Regions from separate parts of the Homo sapiens genome. Here all the other regions are linked to region 1. The links are contacts of gene promoters, found by promoter capture Hi-C in blood cells and fetal thymus (Javierre and others, 2016). All regions are on one chromosome and are shown on one strand. The core of a region is centred on a gene start or on the middle of the fragment in contact, and the rest is flanking DNA. Distances in the headings are between cores, read along the strand shown. Region 1 holds the start of FRMD5 (FERM domain containing 5). Region 2 overlaps FRMD5 (FERM domain containing 5). Region 3 overlaps FRMD5 (FERM domain containing 5).

Region 1 (4,392 bases), core at 782-3,281:
TGAAATTTTGAGTTTCTTCACAGGTCTTCTTCCTCTGGGATTTAAGTGCTGTAGAACACCTGTCAATTCCATTTACTTCAGTTCATCAATTTTTTTTTTTTTAGACCGAGTCTTGCTCTGTTGCCCAGGCTGGAGTGCAGTGGCACAATCTCAGCTCACTGCAATCTCTACCTCCCGGGTTCCAGCGATTCTCCTGCCTCAGCCTCCCCAGTAGCTGGGACCACGGGCGCATGCCACCACACCCGGCTAATTTTTGTATTCAGTTCAACACTTATTGAATACCTATTATGTTTCAGGCATCAGACTACCTGCTGAAGCTACAAAGTAGTGGAGCGCATGCCTGGTTTTATGCCTGGAACACTTGACTTACTAGTTCTAGACTCATAACTAACTCCATCCAAATTGCATTGAAAAGAGAATCCTGCTCCTATGGCTATTAAATGCCACAAAGGAGAATGCAACCAATTAAGAGCAGTCCAGGTTACTAAGGTGATAGAAAGAAAAAGGGGGAGGGAGAGGGGGAGGAAGAGAGAGAGAGAGAGAGAGAGAAAGAGAGAGAGAGAGAGAGAATGAAAGAGAATGAATCTCCCCATGCAAAAAAAAAAAAAAAAATTGGGGAAAATATTGGAATCCAAAGACACTAGGGAAGAAGCATACTTTAAAGGCGGGATAGTTTTCTAGGCTAATGTAGAGTTTCATTTTTGTTACACATTATACCTATAAACAAGAACAGTGCAAATGAAAGTAATAGGAAATTATGCCTATTTCATTATTTTAAATTAATATATTTATTACAGCATTAATGTTCTATGTTGACACGATTATTTTTTTTTTTTGAGACGGTGGCTTGCTCTTGTCCCCCAGGCTGGAGTGCAATGGCCGTGATCTTGGTTCACTGCAACCTCTGCCTCCTGGGTTCAAGCGATTCTCCTGCCTCAGCCTCCCGAGTAGCTGGGATTACAGGTGCGTGCTACCATGCACGGCTAATTTTTTTGTATTTTTAGTAGAGACGGGGATTCACCATGTTGGTCAGGCTGGTTTCGAACTCCTGACATCAGGTGATCCGCCCGCCTCGGCCTCCCAAAGTGCTGGGATTACAGGCTTGAGCCACTGCGCCCGGCCGACATAATTATTTTATAACATTTCCTCACATCAAAAATCTTTGAGGGAGAATATCTCTTATTGAAGTTCTGGTAAAAAACCTTGAAGTCTGTAAATTTGGGGTGACAAAGAGAAGGAGACAATTCTTTGTGATGTATACCTCCTGACATACTATGTTGTTCTATTGAGAAAGTCTGAAGACATAATTTCCAGTTCTAAAAGTGCAAGGAGAAGATTCATTGCTTCCTCTGCTCCCTACCAGCTGAAGGAGCAGTCTCCTTTTGTCTTCTGAAATAAAAAGGAGGCAAAGGGTGTTAGAGTGGAGGGTTTTTTAGGGGATTAAACCTGGGTACTTCAGAACCTCTGAGGTCCCTTTAGCTTTTATTTAAGTAGCTCCTGTTTCCCAAAATAAGAGGGCTGGAGCACAGAGGCCAGACGGGCCAACTTAGGGTACAGCACAGGTCGGGGGCAGTCGCCCTATCTGGAGCGAGAGGTATCCGCATTCTGCAGGTGCAGGGACTGTGATCCAGCACCCTGCCGCCTCCTCGCTCCGGCTCCCAAGAGGGCGGGAACCGCGGTGTTGCAGGGTGCGAGGCTTGGCTTCGGAAACGCAGATCAAGTGTATTTCAGGCGGCAGACATCAATCCAGTTGGGTGCTCACACCTGGCCCGGGGGAGGGGAAACAGCATCCATAGGAACCACGGGGCGGAGAGGAACCCCTCGTTTGGGACGCTAGAGGGCTGCTCCGGCTTGACTAGGTCCGACTGCTTTTCTGTGATTGCTTCTTTATCCCGCCCATCATCCCAGTACTCTATCTCGATTGGCTTTTCGGTCTGCCACTCGGTTCCGCCGCGCTGACCCCCATTGGCCCCCTCCAGTTGAGGCCCCGCCCCGCGAGCTGGGCACGGGCACTGGGGCGCCGAGGAGACAGAGCCCGGCGCTTGATCTGGGCTGGGGGGAGGCGGTGGCGGCTGAGGGAAGGAGGAGGATAAGGAGGAGGAACGAGGCCAGCAGGAGGCAACGGCAGCGACGGGGCCGGGGTGATGGTGCAGGTGCCTGGGGTCGGTGCGGAGCTGCCGGGCTGAGGGACGCCTGGTCCAGGGTCCGCAGCGCCGCCGCGTCGCTCCCGGGCGGGCGGGCGGGAAGATGCTGAGCAGGTTGATGAGCGGCAGCAGCAGGAGCCTGGAGCGCGAGTACAGCTGCACCGTGCGGCTGCTGGACGACAGCGAGTACACCTGCACCATCCAGGTCAGCGCCGCGCCGCCCCGCCCCGCCCGCGGGACCCCCTTGTCCCCCAAGTCTGGTCAACTTGGCCGGCGGCGGCCGCCGCCCAGGGGTCGCCCCAGCCCCAGCGCCGTGCTTTGTCCGTTCCTGGTTGCGGCGGACCGCCCTAGTGCAGGGCGTCTTCACCGGAGCCCCTGCCGGAGCCCTGGCACCCGGTGTGTCACCGCCGCCGCGGGGCGAGTCTCCGCGTCCCACACCCCTAAGTCCTACCCTGCTCTCCCTGGGTGAGGGCGCCCCGTCCTGGTTCCTCGAGCCCGCCCGAGTAAGGTGCACCTTTCCGGGGCGCCCGGAGGGAGGCGGGTAGGGCGGTAGGCTCCTAGCCCGGCCGCCCCGTCGGGGGCGCAGGCTTTGGCTCTCTGCCCGGGCAAGGACGTATGGCTGGCTTTTCTTATCTTTCTTGGGTTGGAAGGATAATGGTTTATGTCATAATTCCTCCCCCCACCATTTGTGAGTCAGAGCTTTCAGAAGGTAGAACTGAACGCGCAGCCCATGCGGAGTGGCCTATTGAAGGAAGCCCAGTCCTCTGGGTTTTAGAGATTTAGGCCCCCTCCCGCCTTTTGATCCCCAAATTTTATTGTGTTGGGCGGTTCTAGGGGACGTGAGGTAAAGATTTAGCAACAAGTCCCAGCGATTTGGGGCTTGGAAGTGGCCAGGAAGAATCGGCGACTTAGGAAAAACGCCAACAATACGGTAATGCTCAACAGCATTTCTTTCAGAACCTGGTATTTTTGAAGGGATTTTTACAACCTCTTGCTCATGTTCCTTCGCTACTGCTGTGTGCACGTCAGGAGTAGTAGTCTTTCCCGGGAATGCAGTCACAGCCCTCTCTCCTCCCTTATGAAAAAGTCAGAGATTGAAAACATTGACAATGCTCCCGTGTTTAGTTCATCAGCCAGGAGGATCCTGCGCTCATCGCCGGAAGCTGCTCTTTGTGGAGAAGCTAATTGAGCTGGACCCAGAGGGGTCTCACCTGATCCTTTGCCTTTGCAGCAGGAAAACAGGAGGAGGCTTCTGGCTCAGATGTGACAGACAAAAACTGTCGGCCTGGGTCCTACCCTCAGTGTCTTCTTGCCCCCCGCCTCCTTATTTATTTATTTTTGCTGACAGTGCTCAATCGCGGAAAATAGCGGTGTGTGAGAAAGACACTGGGTAGTGTATGAGAGCAGCTGGTCTCTGCTGACTCCGTGCTCAGTTCAGCCTTCTCCTCACTTTCCCTTTTCTCCCTCCCCTCGAAACCAGCTCTGGGCATAAGTGCTGACTGCTGCCAAAGATCCATGAGGGTAGAGAAAGAGCACAAAATCTCTTTTTAAGGCTACTTAAATACAGACTAAGCAGTCATAAAGATGCTAGCCATCAAGTGAAAGGATTTTTGTAGTTGAATATGATAGAGAGATGCTCTGTATTATTTCCTTGCTGAATGAGTGGAATACTACTTTTTGTTCCTATTGTATCATTGTGCCATGTCCAGTTTTTTTTTGCTTTTTTTGTTTTGCTGGGGTATGAGAATACATTGAGTTGATATCTTCACCATTTGAGTATATTGTCTAGAGCTTTTTAAAAGTCTTTATCCTTTTGTTTTAAAATTTAAAGCATTTATCCAATAGCATATCAAGGGGAGTGTGAGATTTAGACTTTATAAGTCCTAAGAATACTTTTGGGGTATGTGAAATAATTTCCGAGGCAGGTCATTAACTTTTGCCAAGGTGTAGAATACAAATAAAACACAATTCACATCACCATTTCGCTAGAAATGATTGTTAACCTTGTGGTTTTAAAGTATTGCAGTGAGGCAAATAGTTATTTTTTTCCCAGTTAGTGGAACCTTTGAGGTTGCTTGATTGGTATTATAATTGTGGGTAGTTTTTATTACCATTTAGAAAAAAAATATTTTTGAGTTAAATAGGACTTATTGGATTTGTGCTTGCTATATCCCACTATAGCTGTACTTATTTTCCTACTGCTCTCATTTTACATTATTACAATTTAATTTTATAAAATATCTAGGCC
Region 2 (4,392 bases), core at 1,187-3,686, 320 kb after region 1:
ATTTTTTTTTTCCGAAGAACCTCAAGACTTTTATAGTGCTCCAGGGGCGTTAAACGAATTCAGTGGTACCAGAGATAGATAGTTCTGTCAGAAATGTTGGACAAAGTGTAGTTAAGAGAAAGCAGAGTTAAGTTACCTGAGAGACTGTTGAGATTTGGATAGCAGTGCTTATTTTATATACACCCCCTTGACCCAAAGACTATTTCAATTTATATTTTAACAACGAAATGTTATTTTCTTAACAATTCATATTTTGTTTTTACTTTATGGATTAAGAAAATAGAGCCTGATGAACTAAACGATGCAAGAAAGAAACTGATCCTGAGAATGAAAAGCTTCAGAAAATAGAATTCCAAGATCAACAGCCTTAGAAGGGACCAGGAAAAGAATCTTTTAAAATAGATTTCTAAGAGATGCCTACAAAACACAGAATGTGACCGTGGCAGAGACCAACACTTAGATGTAGAAATGCTGCCCCCTAGGGTCATCCTCTGCATAAGTTCTAGGAAAGCATCACCATCCTTGCAGAGGGAAGTCCTCGAAGCACGCAGCACAGGCATATGAAGGGCGAGTGTGGGATCCTAGGCCCAAGCTCTTCAACTCTAAAACCAATCACACACAAGATCCTGTTTTCATCTCAGGGAGAGATTTCTAAGTCATCTGGGGCTTGAGGGCTTATTTAAGGGTGGTCAATGGACATATTCCTGGACCCACACAAAAGTAGAGCAGCTGCTGATACCCTAATTGGACAGCCCCAAACGCAGAACAGAACAAGTCACTTGTAGACTTGACCTCCCCTATTTTGTCCCCCGAGATGGTAGAACCATGTCCATGTTTACAATATGACAACTGTGGAATAATTGGGGTTCTTAGGGAGAGATTTGCATAATTTTAAAGACATCCTTTCATCTGGACCAGAGGTCAATCAACTTATGTCAAGTGCTACACAGTAAATATTTTGGTTTAGCACGCCATACTGTGTCACAACTGCTCAATTCTGCCATCACAGCACAAAAACAGCCACAGATAATTTGTAAATGAAGGAACATGGCTGTGTTCCAATAAAACTTTATGAAAACAGTGAGCTGAATTTAGCCTACAGGCCATAATACGCCAATCCTGCTCTAGACAATAAAACTGATCCTTACCAGTATGTTAGCAGAAGAGGGTCAGTCAGCTCTGTTTCCATGCCTGACATGTATCAAAGATCTGGGACCTCTTCCCAGTGGAGGCACTAGGGTTGCTTGTTTAAAGGGTGCTTGAACAACTAACCAGCAAAGAGATGTCTGATGCCAAATGGGCAAGATCAAATACTGGAATGCTAAAACACAGCTGGAATCTAAGAAGGGAAGAGGGCTTCTCTGACCATTTTCATACCAGCAACAATTTAGGCAGAATTATAAACATCTATTTATCGAGTGACAATACAAACCGAAGGAGATCCTAGTAGAGATTAGGGGTCAGTTAAAATCAACTAGCCACTGCCACTTGTCATCTACATAGCAAAGGCTTTATTTAGCACAGGACTAACGTGAAAAGTAGACCCAGAGATGAAAAGGCTGTCAGGAGACAGGGGGCTGGTGTCCACCTGGTATCTACTGTCTTATGCAACATAGAAGATTACCTTTTAGTGTAGTGCTCCTACCTCAGTTTGTAGAATCTGGTGTTTCTATGCAGTGAGTGATAGCCTCAACTCTGACCTTTCATATTCACATTAGAGACAGATGCAGTATTCCATATCCTAGTATGTTCCTTGTGTCTAGAGTTCTAACAGTACAGTAGTCTATGCCATTTCTAACAGCTAAATTTTGCTCTGTAAACAGAAACTTTAGGGTTGTTTTTTTCCAGGGCTCATCCCAGAAAATATGGATAGAAAAGTTTCCTTCAGTTTGCTTTTCAAATAGTGCTTGAATAATAAACCTCCTTTGATTGGTGACTAGTCTTTTTTGGTATATCTCCACCTTTAAAAATTGTTCAAGTTTTTAACCTGGTTATACTGTGTTCTAACATGTCTCTCATTTTCTCTCAAAATTAGTTTATCTCATTGTAGAAAAAGCAATGGTTTTCATAGCTTCATCTATCAGGAAATAAAACTCTTACTAAAGAATAGCATACTGCATCTTTAAGCAGTAGAGGGTAAACTACCTGCAAATGTGAATTTCTTAGATACATTTAAAAATATATAGTTGTTAACCTTCTGTGTGCCAAAAACTCTTAAGTTACATTTTCCTTCAAAGCAATGTACTTTTTTCTACATATGCAGTATGTAGTTAGCATAAAATCATTGGTGCCATGAAGATTATTTTTAAACTTAAATAAATATTTAAATATCATGGAAGAGTGGGCTCTTTCTTTAATAATAGCCTGTCTTACTTTTCCTCCCTTAAAGTTACTAACACATAGATAAAAGGATACTGGTGGGATTTACACAGCTGACTACTATTCACTTGGATCATATAACATAATTATTTTGCTTGTATCCACCTATTATCCTTGTCCTTACCCCCAGATAAATACTGTTAGAAACTGAGAAGCGGCCAGGCACAGTGGCTCACGCCTGTAATCCCAGCCCTTTGGGAGGCCAAGTCGGGAGGATCACGAGGTCAGGAGTTCAAGACCAGCCCGACCAACGTGGTGAAACCCCCGTCTCTACTAAAAATACAAAAATTAGCCAGGTGTGGTGGCGGGCGCCTATAATTCCAGCTACTCAGGAGGCTAAGGTAGGAGAATCGCTTGAACCTGGGAGGCGGAGGTTGCAGTGAGCTGAGATCACACCACTACACTCCAGCCTGGGTGACAGAGCAAGACTCCACATCAAAAAAAAAAAAAAAAAAAAAAACTGAGAAGCTATATATGTAATAATTTTAAAGTGAATTGGGTATTTTTCTGATGAGGAAAACCAAGAAGACTAAGTGATTTTCCCAAGATTACATAGTGGTAGAGTCCAAACTAGAACCCAGATTGTCCACCTTCTGGTCTGCTGTTCTTACTCAAGCCTGGAGTAAGTGGGAGCACAGAAAATACTTTCTAAGAAGGAACTACAATGATACCACCACCACATATTTACAAAATATATCCCTATAGCATTATCTCATCTGATTATGTAACCATCACTCTGTGGCTACGGAATTGGAAATGGTCTTCTAAATTCCATGAGGATAAGAGGTGATAATGGGGGCTTGGTCCACTGTGCTAGCTTCTTACCTAATCTTTGTCTTTTCAATTCTGCCTGCCCTCCACTCTCCCATTTCTGTTGCCAGATCATCCTCCTAAACACCAATCAGGCTATGTTACCTCCAAATTTCAGAGGTACCCACTACCTAAAAAATGCTATCTAGCACCCTATCCCCAGCGGAATTTTTTGTTTTTATGACATAAGATTTTGCTTGAAGTGATCCAAAGAGTAAAAAGCACAAGAAACACTGGACCTGGGTGGCTTCCCGTGGCCCTGCCGATTCACAGCAGCCTCCCTTCTGCTGACAGCTTATCAAGAACTACCTGTGCACACACCCCTGTAGGACTCTAGTCCCTACTCCCTCTGCTTTGGGTTCCTCTAGCACAATCTAGCTCCTCTGCACCTGAACACACTTTTGGTTTTAGCTCATGAACAGGCTTCCTCTTCAGACCCCTACGACCTGCTGATGGAATGGAGTAAAACAAGCAAAGCACCCTTTTAATAAATTTCCTCTTGCCCAGTTTCCATTTTGGGGAAAATGTATCATAAAATGTTTTGTTCTTCAGCTCCGTGTAAGTGTACTAAATGTTATCTTCCTCATAAATTCTACCTTTTCATTTGAAAATCCAAGTATTTACAGCCAAATAAGTCAAAATACAATCTGCTGTCTTGTTATTTCTAGCCATCAACACCCTACTAAAAAGCAGGGGGAAATGTACTAAGTCAGAAAGGACCGCCCAATAGGACATTGAAGTTTTTGGAATCTGAAGTTAGAGGGCATATATTTCCTCTTCTCAGATTGATTCAGAAGGCATGTGTGTCTTCTCCCCCACCCTACCCCATGTACTGTACATTAGCTGAAAGGATTTAAATCCTTGTATCCATAGCCCTAAGGCTCCCTGTTTTCCTGGAGAACTCCCCTTGCAAAATCTTCTTGGTGGAAAGGAAGCTCAAAGACCAGAATACTAAAATAGGACTTAAGCAACTCAGATTCTATTAATTCCTAATCATTTGTGGTCTCTCCTAGTCTGACAAAGTCTCTGACAACCAAAAATGAGAATTGTCTGCTCCTTCCTTAAAAGTTACATAACAAAAGCCTGGGTATCTTAAAAAAAAAAAAAAAAAAAAACTCAAGCGGAATTCAGAGCTTAAGAGATATCATAAAGGCCAAACTTACAGAAAAGGCTTATCCCGAAGGAGGCAATCATAATACACAC
Region 3 (4,392 bases), core at 1,345-3,844, 310 kb after region 1:
TCTGGGCTATTTGATATTCTTTAGAGGGCCCAGATCCACATTCCAACCAGAGTAGCTGTTGGGTGAGGTCCCTGTTAGAGGGAATGTTTGGCTAGAAACAAGTAGGACACACCTGTCACAGACACCTGCAGTCCCTAAATTATACCCACCCTTCCAGAAACCATGATGGCTCTTGGTTCTCACAGACACTTTTCTTTCCACGGCTTCTCTCATGCACCACTTCTTCTAGAAGTCTCCTCTTCACCATGTGTCAACTCTGTAATAATAGATGTAAACCCAATCTCACTCTCAAAATAAAACTCCTTACTTTCCTAGCTTGCTTGTTGGAACCTAGGTGATCTGTGTGCTTGTCTATATATTAACCAATTGGCATTATTGTACTGTGTGTGTATGAGATTGATGGTTGATTGAGAGGGAGTTTGAGAGGGAATCAAACAGGGAAGGAATACCGTGTGACTTGTGTTAGCTCAGAACTGGTGGTCAGAAGTTGTGAAATCTCATCCTGACCCAGCCATGATTTTCAGGAGCATGGAGAACAAGTGATTTTCCTCTGTCCCCTGAACTTTTTCCAGCAGTAAGTTGGGTACATGATTCTCGCTACCTTTCTACTATTTCCTAGGAGATGAAGGAAATCTCCTTAGAAATTACAAAAAAAAGCAGCAGCCAAGTGGAGGTGAATGTGCATGACAAGACCGCCTTGGGGGTCCCAGTTGGGTTGAAAAATGGGGCCTCCAGTGACATGGAGAGGGCTGAGAGACTCCAGAGGGCAGCTATGTTGGGCAGATAGAAGGGAAGTGAGGAGCAACCAGTGCTGAGGCCTAGTTCCATGGCTCTCAGGGACATTCACCTAAGACCCAGTAGTTTTTCCGTTTTGCAAATGTAACCAAGGCTGAGAGCAGGAGGTGGATGTGGAGGTGAGGTCTAGGCCGTGCCATGTACAGTAACCATGTCACTTCTTCTGATTTGTGTCTGTCCCACGGGTGATGTACCCCAGTATCCTGTTTGCCTCTTTTACTGCAGCCATTCACTGGGCTGGTGGCTTCAAGGATTTTTCTACAATAACCCCTAAGCCCCTTTCCTGGTCAGTACGCTGCATGACTGTTCCATGTAATCTGTTCTCTCTCTTTGGTATGTTGCCCTGCCCCGCTCCCTGAGATTGTTTGATATTTGTCTGCATTAAACTGCATTTTCCATCCAGTGGCACAGTCACCTGAAAGACTCAACTCCCTCAGAACCTGGTTGCATTGTTTCTCATTATTTGCTGTATCTTGAACTTTGGCCTCATCAGCTACCTGTGGCATCTTACGTTTGACAGTCCCATCCAGATAATGCACCTGTGTTATGAACCCAATCCTGAAATGACCCCAGATACTCTACCTAGACTCACTTTCCATGCAAATGTTTCCCTTTTACAGCCACTGTTGATAAGCCCGAAATCCTCCTGTCACCCTATTACTATAGTGTGATTGACCAGAAAACTGTGGATTGAACTGTTTCAACAACATTCTCTAAGGCCACTGCGCTGCTGTCTTGTTTCAGTTCTGATTTTGGCTAAAATTGTGTCTGTGCCTGGAGCCCCTTCCAGTTGGGGTGGGCTGTGCATCTACAAGATTTAGCTGTGAACAAGCAGCCCACAATGAGGTGACAGGCACTATCTTTGTGCTTCTAGGAATGAGGTGACCAAGCTGAAATTTGAAGGAAAGACTTTCTATTTATACGTAAGTCAGAAAGAGGTGAGTGCTGGCTTCCTTCTCTTCAAGGAGGGCTGGGGTGATGGGATGCTTCCTGGTGGCCAGAGCCAAGCTTGAGGGACCCCAGTAGAGCCAAGCTACCCACATACTAAGCCAAGACCAAGGTCAGGACCTGGAGGTACAATATGAAGGAGCGGGAAGGCCCTGGAGCACAGGACTTCCTCAGGGATGCTATTGACACCCAGAGCTTCCACTCAAGAGATCTTTACCTCCAGGAAATGCAAAGGAAGGCTCTTTTTCTTTCGTGTATATGGGAATTCCAGAGGCAAGGGCAACTTTCTCACCAAGAGCTCTCCTGGTTCAATTTGTGCCACTTTTGTGCCAGCTGAGACTTACCCTGATTGGACTTGCCAAGTATGATGTGATGCACTTAACTGAGCTCTGCCTCAGTGGGTCCCACAGGCCCTCCCCTCTAACTAGCCAGCTGCCAGGGCCTCTAACAGCTCTGGGGTCAGGGTCCTCGCCTACTTCACCCTTTGCTTCTCCATCCACACTCAGCCATATCAATGTGGAATTTTTTGCAGGAAAAGAAAATTATTCTTACATATTTTGCTCCAACTCCTGAAGCGTGTAAGCACCTCTGGAAATGTGGAATCGAGAACCAAGCCTTCTACAAGTGAGTGGATACATGTGATGGGGACTGTCTTTCTTAGAGCCAGAGTCAGAGAGAGTCGGTGACAGGAGGCCAAGTGCCCAGGAACTTGGGGCGGGGTAGCTGGAAGTGGGCAAGAGCTTGACAGTTACTGAGAAGCCAGGTTGAGGCCAAAGGCAAGAGCTTTGCCTACCAAAGGGATTTTGTAAAGAATGTGGGGCTTTTGTGTTGTTTTCTTCGGTTAAGAAAGTGGTTATAAAAGCATTAGGTAGTGAAGAAATGGCCCACTGAGGGCATGATGCCAGGTAAAATATGTCTCACTAAGCCCTTTGGTCTTGTTTTAAAAATATACCGTAATGATTTATGCTTTACTAAGATGTATCTGAATGAGGTCAAGGCAAGACAGAGTGTGGTATATTCTACCTGGGGTGAGCCCTGCTCTCACCAAATGCCCCTGATTGGCCAGGTCCCAGTTCCAGTAACCTGAAGGATCCTGGAGAGATGAGAACTGCTCTGGGATGAGTGGCACCATACTTCTCTCCAGGGAAGATTCTGCTGCCTGCTGGCTGCTATGGGATGCTGGCTGGCAGAACTGGGTCCTCCCAGTTGCCAGGGCCACAGCCCCAGAAGCTGTTTCTTAGACAGGCATTCTGAATTACTTAATTCCCATTATGTGTTTATACCAGAACCAAGGATTCACTGAATCGGCAGCCTTTCTTCTCCTGAATATACTCGGGAGACTTTGGCATGGTCACACTTCCCTCCTGTTCAGTCCCTACTGTCCATAGAAAGTCAAGAAAACATTTATTTTCTTTTGCTACCACCCTCCCTTTGCCTGTGAGGATGTAATCCAGGTTTGGCCAGTTACCTGAACCTAGAGAGAAGCAACTTGAGATGCAAGCTCCTGCCTGTGGGACTGAGGAGCAGCCCAAGAACTGGGGTCCCACGGGTCTCCGCAGCAGAGAGAGGAAGGCACTAGCCGACAGGGGCCTGCTCCACACTGAACTATCCCTGCCCTGGGAATGGCATATGTGGAAGCTTTCCCTTTCTCTCTACCAAAGGGTAGAGAAGAAGCAAACAGAAGCAATCTCCTTGCCTCTTGTCTTTTCATGCCTTCAGCAGCATTTCTTAAGGGCTTGGTTTTCCCATCTGTGTCACGGAAACAGAAGTGTTGCTTCTGAACCTGTGACCTCACTCAGTTTCTGAGTCTTCCCACGAGTAGATCTCCCTACCCACCCAGCCCTGCCTGCACCCACACTGGAAATGGAGGTCATTTTTCAGTTTTCCATTGCCTCCTTAATGTTCTCATCAAACGGTAAAAGCCTGGGTGAGATCCCCAGGTATGTCAAGTCTCTGGCAGCAGCGCTTTGGCCTTGCCCTCAGTGTCTCTCACATACAGATCCCTAGTCCTGCCTTTGGCCTAGTGCCATGGCAGGAGCCCAGTCAGATGCAAGAACATGCCCAGGCTCCAGTAAGCAGCTCGGATGTCCTGGAGCCCTGAGACGGGCAGGGATGGTGTCTCCCAAGAACTGTTCATGGATTGTGGAAACAGCTCCTACTCACTGCTCATAGCACAGGTTTCAGACTCACATAGGTTACTGGTTGGATCAGTACCATAGGCACCTGGGCATGTTACAGGTGGATCCCATCTTAGGAGGCTTCTCTCTGAGCTGCTGTGCCCAAGCTGAGAGAGCTAATGGGCTCAGTGAAGTCACCCAGGAGAAAGTATTACAGAGCTCCACATCGGCTGTCTGCAGCTTCAAACGAGATATAAAATAGATATCCTGGGGGAGGGAGAAAGGCTCCAAATTCAAATACATGACGGACTTTTATTAAAGTTAAGCTAGTTTCTTCATCGCAGGATTTCTGTCTTTACTGTGGTCATGTATTTTAGGACCCTCCAAAAGGGAGATGGAACAGGAAAGACAGCCCCCACCCTCTTCTCCACCCACAATTACCCAGACATAGACACAAAATCAAATACTGGGACTGGAAAGGAGACCCCTAAGGTCCAGTAGTCCCAGCTCTATCATTTTATAAAAAGGGTGA

The links. Contacts are between HindIII fragments. The CHiCAGO score rates a contact against its expected background, and 5 or more counts as called.
Region 2: a contact is called between a fragment that was not itself captured here and the fragment with the promoter of FRMD5 in region 1, in 1 of 17 cell types (M1 macrophages). The highest score is 5.6, in M1 macrophages.
Region 3: a contact is called between a fragment that was not itself captured here and the fragment with the promoter of FRMD5 in region 1, in 3 of 17 cell types (endothelial precursors, megakaryocytes and erythroblasts). The highest score is 6.8, in endothelial precursors.

What each region holds. Positions count from the first base shown.
Region 1 is chr15:44,192,910-44,197,301 of GRCh38, reverse strand. FRMD5 (FERM domain containing 5) reads left to right here and starts at 2,031. Exons shown (of 14, transcript NM_032892.5): 1 at 2,031-2,349. The coding sequence starts at 2,248. RefSeq lists silencers at 11-246, 2,481-2,530, 2,641-2,700 and enhancers at 1,531-1,630, 1,146-1,645, 1,646-2,147. The HindIII fragment of the contact is 9,344 bases long and covers 1-4,392 here.
Region 2 is chr15:43,868,705-43,873,096 of GRCh38, reverse strand. FRMD5 (FERM domain containing 5) reads left to right here. Exons shown (of 14, transcript NM_032892.5): 14 at 1-2,333. Among named protein-coding and RNA genes, the nearest start is that of WDR76, 44 kb to the right of the region's middle. The HindIII fragment of the contact is 4,197 bases long and covers 338-4,392 here.
Region 3 is chr15:43,886,150-43,890,541 of GRCh38, reverse strand. FRMD5 (FERM domain containing 5) reads left to right here. Exons shown (of 14, transcript NM_032892.5): 9 at 1,670-1,733; 10 at 2,276-2,367. Among named protein-coding and RNA genes, the nearest start is that of WDR76, 61 kb to the right of the region's middle. The HindIII fragment of the contact is 1,578 bases long and covers 1,806-3,383 here.